Regions from separate parts of the Homo sapiens genome. Here region 2 is linked to region 1. Evidence: promoter capture Hi-C in 16 types of primary human blood cells and fetal thymus (Javierre and others, 2016). All regions are on one chromosome and are shown on one strand. Each heading gives the region's core, a stretch centred on a gene start or on the middle of the fragment in contact. The rest is flanking DNA. Distances are from core to core; before and after follow the strand shown. Region 1 holds the start of SYNE1 (spectrin repeat containing nuclear envelope protein 1). Region 2 overlaps SYNE1 (spectrin repeat containing nuclear envelope protein 1).

What was found. The method cuts DNA at HindIII sites, captures the fragments that hold promoters and counts their contacts. A CHiCAGO score of 5 or more calls a contact.
Region 2: a contact is called between a fragment that was not itself captured here and the fragment with the promoter of SYNE1 in region 1, in 1 of 17 cell types (neutrophils). The highest score is 5.4, in neutrophils.

The regions. Positions count from the first base shown.
Region 1 is chr6:152,632,100-152,640,001 of GRCh38, forward strand. SYNE1 (spectrin repeat containing nuclear envelope protein 1) reads right to left here and starts at 5,263. Exons shown (of 146, transcript NM_182961.4): 1 at 5,090-5,263; 2 at 4,539-4,706. RefSeq lists an enhancer at 2,761-2,890. The HindIII fragment of the contact is 16,108 bases long and covers 1-7,902 here.
Region 2 is chr6:152,526,485-152,534,386 of GRCh38, forward strand. All of the region lies in intron 4 of SYNE1 (spectrin repeat containing nuclear envelope protein 1), which reads right to left. Among named protein-coding and RNA genes, the nearest start is that of SYNE1, 110 kb to the right of the region's middle. The HindIII fragment of the contact is 4,813 bases long and covers 2,442-7,254 here.

The DNA of each region.
Region 1 (7,902 bases), core at 4,013-6,512:
CACTACTGCTAGTCTTACCTCACTCTAAAGAAACAGTGAACATTTCACTGGTATAGAGGCTATAACATTGCAAAATCTCATTCATTGACACCAAGTATATCCCTGACCACATCCTAGGCCCCCGATATATATTTTTTGTTTCATTGAATCAAGTTCATAATACTTTACATTTATGAGAAAATCCCCAGAAAACCTCTTCCTCTTCAATGCAAAAAAAAGTGGATGCAATATCCTTCCTTTTTCAGACATTAAACATTTTGCTTTCATCATTCACATGTACACATATTTCCTATTTTGTGAAATCATGATTTTCTTGCTTTTTACTGATACTTTATCTAATTACATGATTTAATAAGAAATTTAAATGATGTTAATAAAAAGAAGGTAATAAAAGGAGACTGGGAATTAGGAAATATCAGTTCTAGGCTAAACTTTATCCCAGCTAGTTGGGTGATTTTGAGCTGGTTCTATGCATGAAGGTCCTCAACAACTACCTATTGGAGGAGAGTGTGGTACCAGGAAATGCACAGACTTTGATCTAAGAAAGACCTGGAGCTGAATCTTAATTCTATCTCTTACTGTGCACGCAGGCTTAAGAAAAATGAGCTTTTCTGAGCCCTTCTTTCATCATCTGTAAAATGAGGTATACTTATGCCAAATTAGGTTTAATTTTATCCTGCTTAAATTAATTTTTTTAAAAGATAAATATGTCATGTTTCCAGCAGATTGATTGGCATGTAGCAGAGTTTCAGCAAATACTAGTTTCCATTTTCCTTCCCCTGTTCCCAGTTTCTCCAGCTGCAATATGAGAGACGGCCCTAAAATGCAGAGGTACTCCCAAGTGTGCTCTTCTGTTCCAAAACCAATAGCAGCACAAGGCAGAGCTAAAACAACGACTGGTGCAAGGTCATGAGATCCTCCAACAGACTGTTTACCTAGCAGTGTTCTGGCTATGGACATGACAGAACCAGAACACCAGAGGCAGATCCAGAACATCAATAAACTCACTATTCCCAAGATTATTAAAACAGTTTTTAATAGGTGCAGGATACTGCGGGAGCACGAAGGAGAGGGAATGAAGAGTGAAGCTAGGCATTGGGATGGAATTGGAGAATTTGATGGACATTCATGGGCTGTATACCAATAAATAGTCCCTGCACCATCTCCAAATTTTTCCAGGGGAAGGAACTAAGATTATGATGCAGCTAAATACATTCAGAAAGGTAAGATTCCTGTATTTATTATTTCACAATAAATATGTATTGAGTAGCTATTTGTAAGGGACCATGGTACTGAGTAAACAGCAGTCAACAAGAGAGACAAGCCCCTCTTACAGCTTATGTGCCGGTAGAGGAAGATGATATAAACAATGTTACAACAAAGGAGGGCAAGTATTGTAATGGAAAAGTCCAGGCTACTATGGAAGCAAACAAAACACCCACCCAATCAATAACCATCTGCTGCATTTTTTTTTTGTTCAGGACACAGAGAGAATTTGGACTATCTGCTATTTGGGATGCTCCCAGTTGAAAGGCATACTCTTCTTAGGAATTTGGACTACCTGCTATTTGGGATGCTCCCAGTTGAAAGGCATACTCTTCTTAGGAATTTGGACTACCTGCTATTTGGGATGCTCCCAGTTGAAAGGCATACTCTTCTTAGGAATTTGGACTACCTGCTATTTGGGATGCTCCCAGTTGAAAGGCATACTCTTCTTAGGAATTTGGACTACCTGCTATTTGGGATGCTCCCAGTTGAAAGGCATACTCTTCTTAGGAATTTGGACTACCTGCTATTTGGGATGCTCCCAGTTGAAAGGCATACTCTTCTTAGGAATTTGGACTACCTGCTATTTGGGATGCTCCCAGTTGAAAGGCATACTCTTCTTAACATCACTCCCTGTGAAAAAACACAGTTGTGAAATAGCACAACTCAATTTTTTCTGTCTCTTGGCAGAATGGACATTGGCTCTTAAAGCAGTTTCTTGTTTGTGTGACTAAAAAGGAATACACTAAGAAAAGCACTGAAGAAATACTACTGAGCCACAAGAATATATATAAGCAATGCAACTGAATTTCTAGGTATTAGGAAACTACTGCAGAAAATTTCAAACCCTGCAATGACCAGAGACAACGTGGCTCATTTCTAACCAAAAAGAAAATGAACTGAGAACATAAACACATAAACAGATTCACAACAGCAGGAAGTACAGATATTAATTAAATGTCTAAACATGTATAAGAATAGCACTAATATTGAAACCCACTATTGAATAAAATTTTTAGTCATGAATAAATTTCAGTTTCCCTTCTATTCAAGTCTTTTGCTGAAGAGAGTTCACATACTGTTTAATTTTAAATTTAATTATTTTTTTCTCTATTCACCCATTAATAATGGTACTAATTAATGAATACTAAGATGGCTAAAAGAGAAGAACAGGGATATCTTTGAATTAATGTAAGTATATTACTAATAAATGTGTGCAGGTTATCAGGGAACAATGCTGTTTCTTATTCACTAGTATGAATTATACAGAGTAACAATAAGAAATGATCTTTTCCATAGAAGAACATGAACAAGTAAGCAAAAGACAAAGTGTATAGCAGAAATCAGCATGAAAGATGTTCAGTGTCATAATTAAATTTTGTTTATTGTAAGCCTAAAGTATAAATTACAACCAAAGACATCTGCAACCTTCTTTTTTTCCCTTGCTACAGTATATTGCACACCTTGCCAAACATTAGTTCTCGTTAGATTAGACCACAAAGAAGTACACATTTAAGAGGAGACACACAGAGGACCTCGCAGAGGCGTTTGGGCCCTGCATGCCTGTCACATTCAGACCACAGGGTGTGGCTGCAGTAGCTAGAGCTGGAGTTGTGAAAATGCCACCAACCTTGCCCAGTTATGGGCTTCCTACATCCTGTGACAGTCACACCTCCTTTCATTTCCAAGATGCTGTGTGTGCAGCATAGTTATCAGAAAGTAGGCCCAGTGCAGCACCAAACAATTCTTGAACATTTTTAAATGGCAAACTAGCTTTTTCCAATCTCCTCTCCCTGGCAGGAAGGACTCAAGTAAAAAAGAGTTCTTAAATGAGGTCAATGAGGACAGAAGAAAACCAGTTTGTGAAAATCATTAGTTCAGAAAGATGAAAGTGAGACTATAAAATAAGAGCTAGGCAAATATTTCCAAAGCCTAGCAAATATTGTTATCTGGGTCAGTCTGAAGCTGTTTCTTAATCTTCAGCATGAAACATATTAAGTTAGTATAGATCTCTCACATTTTGTTCTAAATCTGCCACAAAGTAATGAACAGAAAAGAAAAAATAGATATGTATTTTGTCACACTGTTCCGGTGATATCAGGAACTTTTTAGCCATACTACAAATCTTTTTTCACCATGGGGAATAAAAAGCCTCTCAAAGAACAATCGTCATGACTCGTGATTAAATTCGCATTTTATGAAGATGTAGGTCATATTAATGACCTTTGCCTCATTGAAAATTATTATACTTTCTCTTGCATAGGTCTGGCTTCTGTATACGAATGTTGTCTTTAGGAAAGTCATTCTCAGATGAAGACAAAAAATGGATGGGCATTAAAGAAGAGAAAAATAATTCATTTTTAACTTTCTTAACATTCACAGGAACATTTCAGATACAAGTTTTCCACCCCAAAACGAAAAGCTCAGAAATGAACATTGTGGGATGCTAAGGCTTCATTGCTGATATTTCCCTCTGGGCTGGACCTGACTCTATTTACGGAAGGGGGCAGAACTTCCAGCATCCAAAGTCTGGGATCCCAGTCAGCACACCCAGCCTGCCTTCCCAAGGGGCTTCTTCCTGTGCGGCTGATGGCTGCTTCGTTTTGCACGGATGCCTGCCCGTTGGGATGCACCTGGCCGCCTGTGCACCACCATTTCCCAGAACTCCTCCGCCAGCAATGCAAGATCTCTCTATGTGAAACGTATCTTTATAAAGAGGAGACGAAAGTTCTCTTGCCCTCTAGTGCAGGCTCTGCCGGGAAGCAACTGCACCATGACAGCGCCGCTGGAGTCTGACGCGCCAGGGCCTCCGCGCAGCCTTCAAGCCATTTCCCTCCCCCAGCCCTTCCTAAAATAGTCAGGGGGTGGAGGAAGGGAGGCTCCTAGAATCTGTTCAACGCCCTACCTCTCCCATCTGATAGTAGCAACAGTACCGACCATCACAATAAGAGGCTGGCTGCCTTTTGCTTCTGCACCATTGGAGCCCAGGAGATGTGCCACAAGCGGAAATGACAACTCAGAGAGGGGGATATTAATAGGGACATCTACGTACGAGATGCAAAGAGGCTCCCCAACCTCCTAGTCTCCTTATCTATGAGTATCGCACACGTACACACATCACTGCCACCACCCCCTCCCATCAAGCACGCAGAGCCCCAGCGTGCAGGCACAAACTTGCTGACAATTTGTCTGCAATGTGTTCGTCTTGCACCTCTCTCTCCTCTCCCTGTCTCTGTCTCTCCCTGTCTCCCAGTCTCTGTCTTTCCTTTTACCTTCTCTCTCGGCCTCGTTCAGTTTCCCAGCAGCAAGGCGAAGCGAGCGAACGCTTCCTCCCGGCTCTCTGCGCCCAGGCTCGGCGGGACCCCGGGGATGCGCGGCTGTCCGCCCGCCCTGTCGCCGGGATCGGGCGCGGTCTGCAGGACTGCGGGAGCCCAGCCGCCCTGGTGACAGAGGACAACAATCTCAGCCCGCTGCGGCCGGCGGCCGCGGCCCGGCGCCCGCGCTCACCCTGGCTGGCTCGCCCACACTCACTCCCGCGCCGGGCTGCTCAGCCGCGCTCCCCGCCCTCCGCGACCGGTTCCTCCTCCCGGCTGCTCGCTGGGGGGTGAGGCCTCCCCCTTCGCCCTCCCCCACGCATCTACTGCTCCTGTCGGGAAGGAAGGTCGCCCAGGCCGGTTCAGCCTCTGGGCAGGGTCCCTGCACCGCCCTGGCCCGCCACACCCCCTCCCCGGCTCCGTGCCCCGCGCCCCGCGCCCGGCTCCGGGATGCGCCGGTGCCTGGAAGAGCTGGGGGCGGGGACCCGGAGGCTCGCAGGCTTCCCTACCTCCTGGAGATGCACGGCCTTGGGCGTTTCTCCGCAGCTGCAAAGCTGTGCTGTGACCCACCCGCTCAGCGAGCCTTTATACCGGGACCACCTCCCGGGGGTCGAGGTGGGAAGGAAATGTCCCTGAGAGCCGGGACGCGCTGCCTCCGCTGCCTGGAGGAGCTGCGCTGTCCTGCCAGCTAACTTTTGCCCACGGTTTCCACTGCCCGGGTGACCTTTCTGAGCGGAACCTATCCTGAAAGGCTGGGAGGTTCCCTGATGGTCCCAGGAAGGGCGTGATGCAGAGCAAAGAGCAAAACCCGCTGGCTCCTTTTTCATCAACTTCCGAAAGATCCTAAATCGTTTTGGCTGCCAAGTCAGTAGCAAATAACTTAATTTGAGGGAGACTGGTCAGGCTTTATAGATCTTTTTTAATGTTATGTATAAAGTTTAGACTTCTTGAGAAAGCGCTTGACATCTTTAATTCTTGACTGTTTATTATGATGATTCTAAAAACCACTTTTAGGTTCTTCAGGTGCACTGTATGCACCCTGTACATTGCGGAGCCATTTGTATCTTTGGCCACAAGTCCTTCTCGTGGTGTAAGAGATCTTGGTGTTGCCTGGTAGCATTCAGGAGAATTTATTTTGTTGTGGTTTTATGGTATCCAGGCAAAGTCAAACACAGTCTCTCTTCACCAACAGTGAAGTCCAAGTCCAACAGGATGATTGCAGCTAAAATAATCGAAGCCATGTTGCAATAATCTTAAAAGTAATAATCCCCCCCTTGAATCTCCAATCTGAACAAAACAGTCATTTATCCTCTAAATTTGCTGAAAGGAAGGAGCAGTTTATAAAGTAGATGAAGTTTCTCTTTGCTGCCTGCCTTTCCCTTACCTGCTGCCAACATTCCCACTGCCTAGCTTTCCATTTTCTTCAAATTCTCCTTCTTCTGGATCGTGTCAAAATAATAACATCTGAAACAAATCTGGTAAACCAATCTGATGTGTTCCTCTTCTTTGTGCTGACTTTTGTTTTTTTTTAGAGAGAGAAACCAAACAATGGATCTCTATTTGCAGAACTTGCTACCTCCAAAAGTTGGGCCTGGAGGAGGAGTGTTTGGGATCACTCTCAATGTATGCCCTGCCTCTGCCTGAGGGCAACAATCCTGGGGCACCCCCAGAGCCCCTTGTGGAGACAACCACCAGAGCATAATTATTCCAGGTCAGCCCTCTGTGCCCAGTGGCCACAAAATGGGGTCCAGATTTCCAGGCTTGCCACTCAGAAGAAACAGATCAGAATGGCTCAGCTCACCCTCTCAATCCCTACCTTCATAGAATCAATCCACCCTGCCGGCTTTTGAAGATGGGTAGAAAGTTATTGTGCCAACTTTGCCATTCTTTTTGTTTGTTTGTTTGTTTGAGATGGAGTTTCGCTCTTGTTCCCCAGGCTGGGGTGCAATGGTGCAATCTCGGCTCACTGCAACCTCCGCCTCCCAGGTTCAAGCAATTATCCTGCCTCAGCCTCCTGAGTAGCTGAGATTACAGGGATGCGTCACCACACCTGGCTAATTTTGTATTTTTAGTAGAGACAGGGTTCCTTCATGTTGGTCAGGCTGGTCTCAAACTTCCGACCTCAGGTGACCCATCCAGCTCGGCCTCCCAAAGTGCTGGGATTACAGGTGTGAGCCACTGCACCTGGCCACCAACTTGCTATTCTACACGTTAAGCAACTACTTTCTTGGGTTTACTTACTTGAGAAGTGAGCCACTTAAAACACAAGCCTGAAACATTGCTTCCACCAACTAAAACTCCTCTACTAGGCCTAATCTCTGTTCTCACAGGCTGAGACAGACAGAAGCATAGAGCTGTCTTGCTGGCATTGATTCCCTATACAGCTGAAATCCCATTCTCAGCTAAACTTTATCCTCTGTAGAAGGACTAAGCACATTTTAGAGTTTTGCAAAGGGCTTGTCAGTTTCACACACCCCAGGGAAGGGTGTTGTAGCTCCATTTACTCAACAGCTATTGCTTGAACACTTACCACATAACAAATATTGTCCTAAGTGCTGGGGCTACCGTGGTAAGCAAACTCTGACCGGGCTCTTGCCTTCATGGAGCTTACAGTATGATGGGGGAAGAGCCAGACATTCATCAGAGAACCACACAAATACTTATAAAACCCCATTCTCCAAGCAAAGGCAAATGTTGCTATGAGAGCTTTCAAGAACGGGAGTTGGCCAGGCATGGTGGCTCACACCTGTAATCCCAGCATTTTGGGAGGCCAAGGCAGACAGATCACTTGAGGACAGGAGTTCGAGACCAGCCTGGCCAACATGGTGAAACCCCATCTCTACTAAAAATACAAAAATTGGCCAGGCACGGTGGCTCATGCATGTAATCCCAGCACTTTGGAAGGCCGAGGCAGGCAGATCACAAGGTCAAGAGATCAAGACCAGCTTCACCAACATGGTGAAACCCCATCTCTACTAAAAATATAAAAAATTAGTTGGGCATGGTGGCGCATGCCTGTAGGCCCAGCTACTCAGGAGGCTGAGGCAGGAGAAACACTTGAAGCTGGGAGGCGGAGGTTGCAGTGAGCCAAGATTGCACCACTGCACTCCAGCCTGGCGACAGAGTGAGACTCTGTCAAAAAAAAAAAAAAATAGCCAGCGTGGTTGTAGGCGCCTATAATCTGAGCTACTCGGGAGGCTGAGGCAGGATAATTGCTTGAACCTGGAAAGCGAAGGTTGCAGTGAGCTGAGATCGTGCCACTGCACTCCAGCCTGGGTGACAGAGCAAGACTCAGAAAAAAAAAAAAGGAGGGGAATTAATT
Region 2 (7,902 bases), core at 3,598-6,097, 110 kb before region 1:
AAAAGAGGATACTATCAACCTAAAAGATAAGAGAGAGATTATAGCAGGACGTAAAAGCAGAGCAAGAGCTGCATGGACCAACCTCAGCTTAACTTTGTGCAAGACACATTACTGGGGCTTAACAAGGTGCAGCCCTTCTATAGGACATTCTCACCACAGCAACCTCATTAGCTCAGTGACCTGCTAGAGGAGCACTGTCAGCAGAGCTAAGGTTGCAGGTTCAATCTTCCTGTGGGTTAGTTAGCTGTTATGTTGTGTTCTACAGCCTGGTGAATCTAGCGAACCTTCTTTCAGTGTGGCATTGAACCCAAAAGATCATAAGCACAAAAGTACAGACCGATCAGTGCAAATCTATCATCGCTGCTGGAAAAATAAGCCAAAGACCACCTTTAATTCATGGAGCATCTTTTATTTTTTTATGAAGGTTATTAAAATACTCAATATATGGGAATTCATCAAACATTGAATTAGGGTCTATCTTGGCTCAGGAGAAAGTAAAGAAGCCATTATGCCAATGTTGATGGTCAATAGAGGGGAGGTGTTCACTGATTTATCACAGAATCAGAATTTGTTTTCCATTTAGCATCTGAATTCAAACTTTATAGCTTTCTGATTCTTACTGAATCTTGTTAAAGGCCTAATGCTCAATTCCTGACTTTCAATGTTCTTTCTTTCTTTAAAAAATAATGTGTTCTATGTAAGAGATTTAACTCCAAATGTTTGGTTGGAATGTAACTTTTTTTCTCTACCAACTGATGTAGAGCATTTATATTTCTCTTACAACTGCATGAATTATAATGTCTGAATAGTACAATTCTAAGTTAAAATGTATTTTTCTCTCATTATAAAATGAATAGCTGAATACATTTTGTTCTCATGCTGTGAAATACATGTTCAAAAATAACAGAGTTTTCATTTTTGATCATTCTCTTTCAAATTCCACCATTCACGCTGCTTCTTACTTACATAGCAAAAATGTAATAGTGACTTTATATTCTAAGCATATAAATAAAATTCATCAGAATAAAAGAAGCCATTACAAAGAAAACTATTTGGTGCAATAAGAATCAAAATTATTGTTATTAGCCATATACGGTCATTAAAAATGCAGTCTATTTATCATTCAAAGTAACCACTTGTACCCAAATTATTTAAATCAAGCAAAACAATGAGGAACAAGTTCATAAATGTTTGATACATTCAGTGAGCAAATGCAAATAAAATTTTTCATGCATTGTTATAAATATGCAAAAAGTAAGGAAAGCAGGGAATTCTCATAAAATAATAAAGATTTCAAGAAATTTTGCACCCAAAAATGATAAAATGCACATCTTCATCTGTTTCGATTTTAAAAATACACAGGTGTCTGCCACTTTGAGGAACACGTCCTCTCACCTCACTTCTGCCTCTCTTCTTTCCCTCCTCTGTTGCTACTCATGCTGCAGGTGCTTTCCTTTTCCCTCCAGCTGTTCCCTCCACAAGGCTCCTGGAATTGGCCTTCCGATCAGCAGCGACAGCTGAACAGCTCAGCAGCCTACTGGCCCCTCTGCATGGGACATTGCCAATACCATTCTCTCCCTGATCTGTTCCTACCCAAAACTCTGTGACCAGACTGCCTAGTTCACAGCCCTTTCTCTTTCTTTCTCCTCTCTTCTTCCTAACCATGGCCATTCACCACTCAATCCTGAGTCCTTTGTTCTTTACAAATTTTTTTCTGCTTATACATGACTCTTAAATCCAGGTAAGCGACCTCTCCTAAACTTTGTCAAACATGTGGCAGGCACTTCATATCTATTGCTGGCTTGCTGGCTGACTGACTGACTGAATGAATGAATGAATGAATGTAAATATTGTGTGAAGCCAATAAAGAGACTTTATTACACCAGAATAAAAAAAATTAGTAATTACTGGACAAGTTTTGCCATCCAGTTTGTATAAGGTATTCTTTATATATACCAAACAATCAGTTAGGGGGACCTTTACTATGATGACTACCTCACATTTAATTTTTGGAACAATATTTTAATAGAAAATCTTTCAGCTAAAATATTTCTCCTGTCACATGTACAAATATTTATACCACCAATATGGTGACTTTGATAAGACTTGGGTCATAGTGCTGAAGGTCAAAAGGGAGAGTTAGAGATGCAGATAATTTATTGGATCTTGACTTAATGGAAAATAAAGATGTGACTTGAGCTGGCTTGTGTCCATGCCAGTATATGTTAGATATGTTAGTACATACGATGCTTCTATTATTACGTTTTTAGTCTTTCTTAAATTCACTTTTAGAAGTTAATAAAGTTAGTGTTTCTAGTACAGTAGCAGGCACTTCAGCTGATCAGTCAGTACTTTTTCTATTGATAATAAATATGAATTACATTTATGGGTTTGTGTATTATTCAGGAAAAATTAATGTTAATACCATCATTTTTATACTAAGCTTCCTGTCTAACAAGGTGACTCAAAGTATAAAATCCTGGGCTCTAATCCGAGTCACTTAGTGTCTCTGAGATTCAGATTCCTTGCTTTTAAAGAGAGGATGGTGTTCCCATAGGTAGTGGCTGTGAATATTAAACAAGATAGCAGGTAGGAGTCCACAGAATAGCACTCAGCACACTTAGATGTTTAACAATATTTTATTCATTTTTCTTCTCTTCCTATTTTATTATCTTTCTCCTTTTATCCTTATGAAACACTCACTAAATTTGAGTAATATCTAAGTCATAGAAATACCTACTAAATATTGGAATTTATATATTGTATGTAGTCTATAGAAGGACTATTTTGTCATAATTACTTTATGCATGAACATTTTTTATTTCATATATAATACTTAAATGTGAGAACTTCTTAAATTTTCATTTCATACTGTATGTGAGTGGCCTGAGCTGGGCCCATCATATTCTCTGCTTGGGTCCAGAAGATGTCTGGGATTACATTGTCCCATGGCAGTGACCTAGGGACTAGTGTCATCAGGTCATGCTGCTGAGGTCCCAAGAGCCATTCTGACTGTCCTTCTCACAACTGGGTTAGTCAGTGTGTTGGGGGCTCCCAAGAACACTTTCAGGCTTGATGATTCACTAGGACTCAGAACTCAGAAGTGCTGCTGAACTCATGGTTACAGCTTATGACAGCAAAAAGATACAGATTATAATCAGCAAAGCAAAAAGACACATGTAGTGAAGTCCAGGAGAAACTATGCACAGTCTTTCAGAGGTGAATGACCTCTCCCTTCCCAGTGGAGTCACATGAGGATGTACTTATATTTCCTAGCAATGACATGTGACAACCCATGTGAAGTGTTCCCAACCAGGGAAGTTCCCCCAGGTCTTAGTGTCCAGGGTTTTACTGGGGGGTCTATGACATAGACAAGCAATATCCATGTGACTGACCTCAGCTACTCAGCTCCAGCTCTCTCCCACACCCTCAACCCCAGCAAAAAAAAAGTTAACCCAAATCACATTATTAGCATAAAAAGATCTATCAAGGTGGTACAGTATTGCCAAGGCCCCAGGACAAACAAAAACTGATGTTCACTATAAATATAGTGTGGCTCAAGGTCTCAGGCATAGAAAACCACACTACTGGGGCAGAATATTCCAAGGGCTCAGATTATCTCCCAGAAGCCAGCCAAGGTCTATTCTTAAAGACAGGCCCGTCTTTGGAACACAGCATCTGAGCACCGCAGGCCTGCTGAGTTAAGTCTGTCTTGCCCAGTTGGCTTTTCCTTCTCATACTTTGAGACAACTAGTAGCCTTTCAATAGCTCTTTCTTCTTGGTTAAATCATCTAAAATTAATTTTATTTACTTGCAACAAAATGAGGCACAACTGACGTGTCTAATTTCTTAGTGTGTAAACACTATTCTGAGTGTAACAATTTAAATATCAGTGTCTCCCCACTCCCACTCACATAAGTGACCAAAAGTAAATTTGTTCTGTAAAACAGAAGTGCATATCTTCAGAAGAACCTAATTGTATGGTTTTTTTTTTTTTTTTTTTACTAAAACAGTCCCCCTTTATGTGCAGTTTCAATTACCTAGGGTCAACTGTAGTCTGAAAATGTTAAACAAAAAATTCCAGAAAGAAACAATTCATAAGTTTTAAATTGCACACTGTTCTGCATAGTGTGATGAAATTTTTTTTTTTTTTTTGAGACGGAGTCTTGCTCTGTGGCCCAGTCTGTAGTGCGGTGGCACAATCTCGGCTCACTGCAACCTCTGCCTCCCGGGTTCATGCCATTGTCCTGCCTCAGCCTCCCAAGTAGCTGGGACTACAGGCGCCCACCACCACACCCAGCTAATTTTTTTTGTATTTTTAGTAGACACGGGGTTTCACCGTGTTAGCCAGGATGGTCTCGATCTCCTGACCTCATGATCTGCCCGCCTCAGCCTCCCAAAGTGCTGGGATTACAGGCGTGAGCCACCACATCCCGCCGTGTGATGAAATCTTAAGCTGTCCCTGCCTGGGACATGAATCATCCCTTTGCCCAGGGTATTCATGCTGTCTACTCAACCTGACCCACCTGCTTGTCACTTCATAGTTGTCTAGGTTATCAGATCAACTGCCTCGGTATCACAGTGCCTGTGTTCAAGTCATCCTTATTTTACTTAATAATGACCACAAAGTGCAAGTGTACTGATGCTGTCAATTTGGATATGCCAACAAGATGCTGTAAAGTGTTTCCTTTACGTGAAAAGATGAAAGTTCTCAATAAGAAAATGAAAAAAAAAATTTGAGATTGCTAAGATCCATGGTAAGAATAAATCTTTTATTTGTGAAACTGTGAAAAAGGAAAATTGGCTGTCACACCTCAACAAAAGTTACGGCCAGAGTAAATGATAAGTGCTGAGTTAAGATGGAAAAGGTGTTACATTGGTGGGTAGAGGACATGAACAGAAATGTGTTCTAGTGGATAGTGATCAGGTTCAGTACTGTCTGTGGCTTCAGGCATCTACTGGGGACTGAGACATGTCCCTTTTGAATGTAGTTTAACTTTTTAATTTTTAAATGTGCTAAAATACACATAATATAAAATGTGCCATGTTAATCTTCTTAAGCATACAGTTCAGTAGTGTTAAATATTTCCACATTATTGTGCAACTGATCTCCACCATTTTCATTTTGTGAAATTGAAACTCTGTACCCATTAAACAACAACTAGCCATTCCCTCTGCCCTTCAGCCTCTACCATTCTACCATTCTATTTTCTTTTGAATGATTTTGACTACTCTGGATACCTCTTATAAGTAGAATCACACAGTATCTGTCATTTTGTGACTGGCTTATTTCACTTATTATAACGTCCTCAAGGTTCATCCATGTTGTAGCAGGTGCCAGAATTCCATCCTTTTTAAAGGCTGAATCGTATTCCATTGTATGGATATACCACATATTTTGCATCCATTCATCCATCAATGGGCATCTGCATTGTTTCCATTTTCTGGCTATTGTGATTAATGCTACTATGAGCGTGAGTGTATTAATATCTCCTGAAGACCCTGCTTTCAATTTTTGTAGATATATACCCAGAAGTGGAATTGCTGAACTACATGTTAATTCTATTTTTATCTTATTTTTTGAAAAACTGACATATTGTTTTACATAGTGGCTGCTTTGTGGAAGAATAGAAACCTACTTTGAAACATTACTAGCATATCATCACTGTATGAGGTACAAATTTCTACAAATCTTCTACAATCTTAGAATCCGTATTGACCAATATCATGCAGCTATAAAGTAGATTTTCAGTATTAATAATTTAGTATTTAACAAAGAAAATGATAAAATCACCTGTCTCACACCAGGACCATCTAGGACCTCATTTGCCATCATCCATAATCACTTTTAGTCTTCTAGTAAATGGTTTTTACTTTTGAGAAAAGAGCTCTCAAAACATTTTATCATCAAAAAAAGCTACAATATTTTACTTTAAACTACTAAACACATATCCTATGGCTTAATATTTGTGATTGCTAGGTACCTAGTGATACCAATAAAACTGAACCAGAAAATGCTTAGAAGAATAGCGCATGCCACAGTTAAGTATTTACTTCAGTTGAGGCACACACACTATTGAGCACAGTCAGGGTTGCTGAACAGGATGAAGAGTCATGACCTGAGATAGTCACAACATTTTCTTCTGCAGAGCATGTAGGGAGGTCTCAAGGCAAGGGTTGACTCTCCATGTGCATTCTGTGCACCCTTGAAACCTCTGTGCACAGAACGACCCATAACTTGTAGAACCAGATAAACCACTACTTCTGGTTTATATAAGTTTCAGGTAGGAATTATTTCACAAGCTAAGAGATTGTATATGTAGAAAAATTCCCATCCCAGGACCAGTCTGGAGTTTTGCATGCTCTGATGATTATCTTCTGGGTGGGAACAGCAAGTTAAACAACAGTAATATAGAGAAGTGGGAAGGAAGAGAGGTTAACCAGCAGATATGGAGCAAGTGACCTCCCCAAAGGTTGGCAAAGAACCCTCCACAGTATATGTATCAAAATGCCAAAGTATCCTTGGACCAGATCAAGTAAATCATGATTATAACCACTGACAGTAGTCAAATAAAATTAATGTCCAACAGGTTTTGTCATTTTATTCAGCAAATCTAATTGAATGTTTCCAATATCTTCAGAAACAAAGTGTAGTAATTTAAAAACTGTATGTGTAATCTGCTTCTCTTTCACTGCCTTTGTAACAGCACTGTTGTGATCATTTTCCACTTCTGCTTGGCAAAGGTGGGAAGGTCCTTCCCATTCTTTTTTGTTTCCTGTGACAGATAGCATAATCCTTTCCACTTCCTCGATTATTTAATTCAATTCCGAATAAATATTCCAAAGGCAATAATTGCCCTCCAGCTCAGCTTTAAATCTGCTTGGAAAACTCAGCTCTCAACAATTTTCAGATGTAATAAAGTTTGTTTTACTATATAGTATAAAAGCATTATTGTACCAAGTTATTTATTTGGTACAAGTTGGGGTTACCCTTGACTCCTCTCTTTTGCTCACACTCAATATCTGATTCATCAACAAATCTTGTTGGCTTCATTTTCAAAAGTCTTCCAGTATCCAACCACCTCTCATCACCTCTACTGCTACTATCTTGGTCCAAGTCACCAGTACCTTGGCCAGATGGCTTCAATAACCTCTAACTTATCTCCCTCCTTCTGCCCTTGCTTCTCTTCAGTCTACGTTCAGCAGAAGAGCTTCTTGATCTTCTTTACTGTCCATCTCCCCCATTAGGATATAAGCTTCATAATGAGATGGTTATTTTTTTTTCTGTTTTGGTCACTGCTACATTTTCAGCACCTAGAATATTCTCTAGCTTATTAAACAGCATTTTAAAATATTTGTTGAATAAATGTATGATAAATAAAATATATTTCTGGTTGGGCACGGTGGCTTACAGCTGTAATCCCAGCATTTTGGGAGGCTGAGGTTGGTGAATTATTTGAGGTCAGGAGTTCAGGACCAGCCTGGCCAACATGGTAAAACCTCGTCTCTACTTAAAATACAAAAACTAGCTGGGCATGGCGGTGGGCTCCTGTAATCCCAGCTACTCAGGAGGCTAAGGCAGGAAAATCACTTGAACTCGGGAGGAGGAGGTTGCAGTGATCCAAGCCATGCCACTGCACTCCAGCCTGGGCAACAGAGCAAGACTCTGTCTCAAAAAAATAAATAAATGAATGAATGAATGAATGAATGAATGAATGAATAAATAAATAAATAAAATAATATATTTCTAAAGAAGGAACTTTGACAAATATTAATATTAGCAAAATGTTTATTAGTCTGCATAAACTTTGTGAGATCTAGATCTTTGTTATCCATAAACTAATATATTCTATAAATAAATTAACAAATGCTATTCATTTTGAAATGGGAATTTTCCTTTAT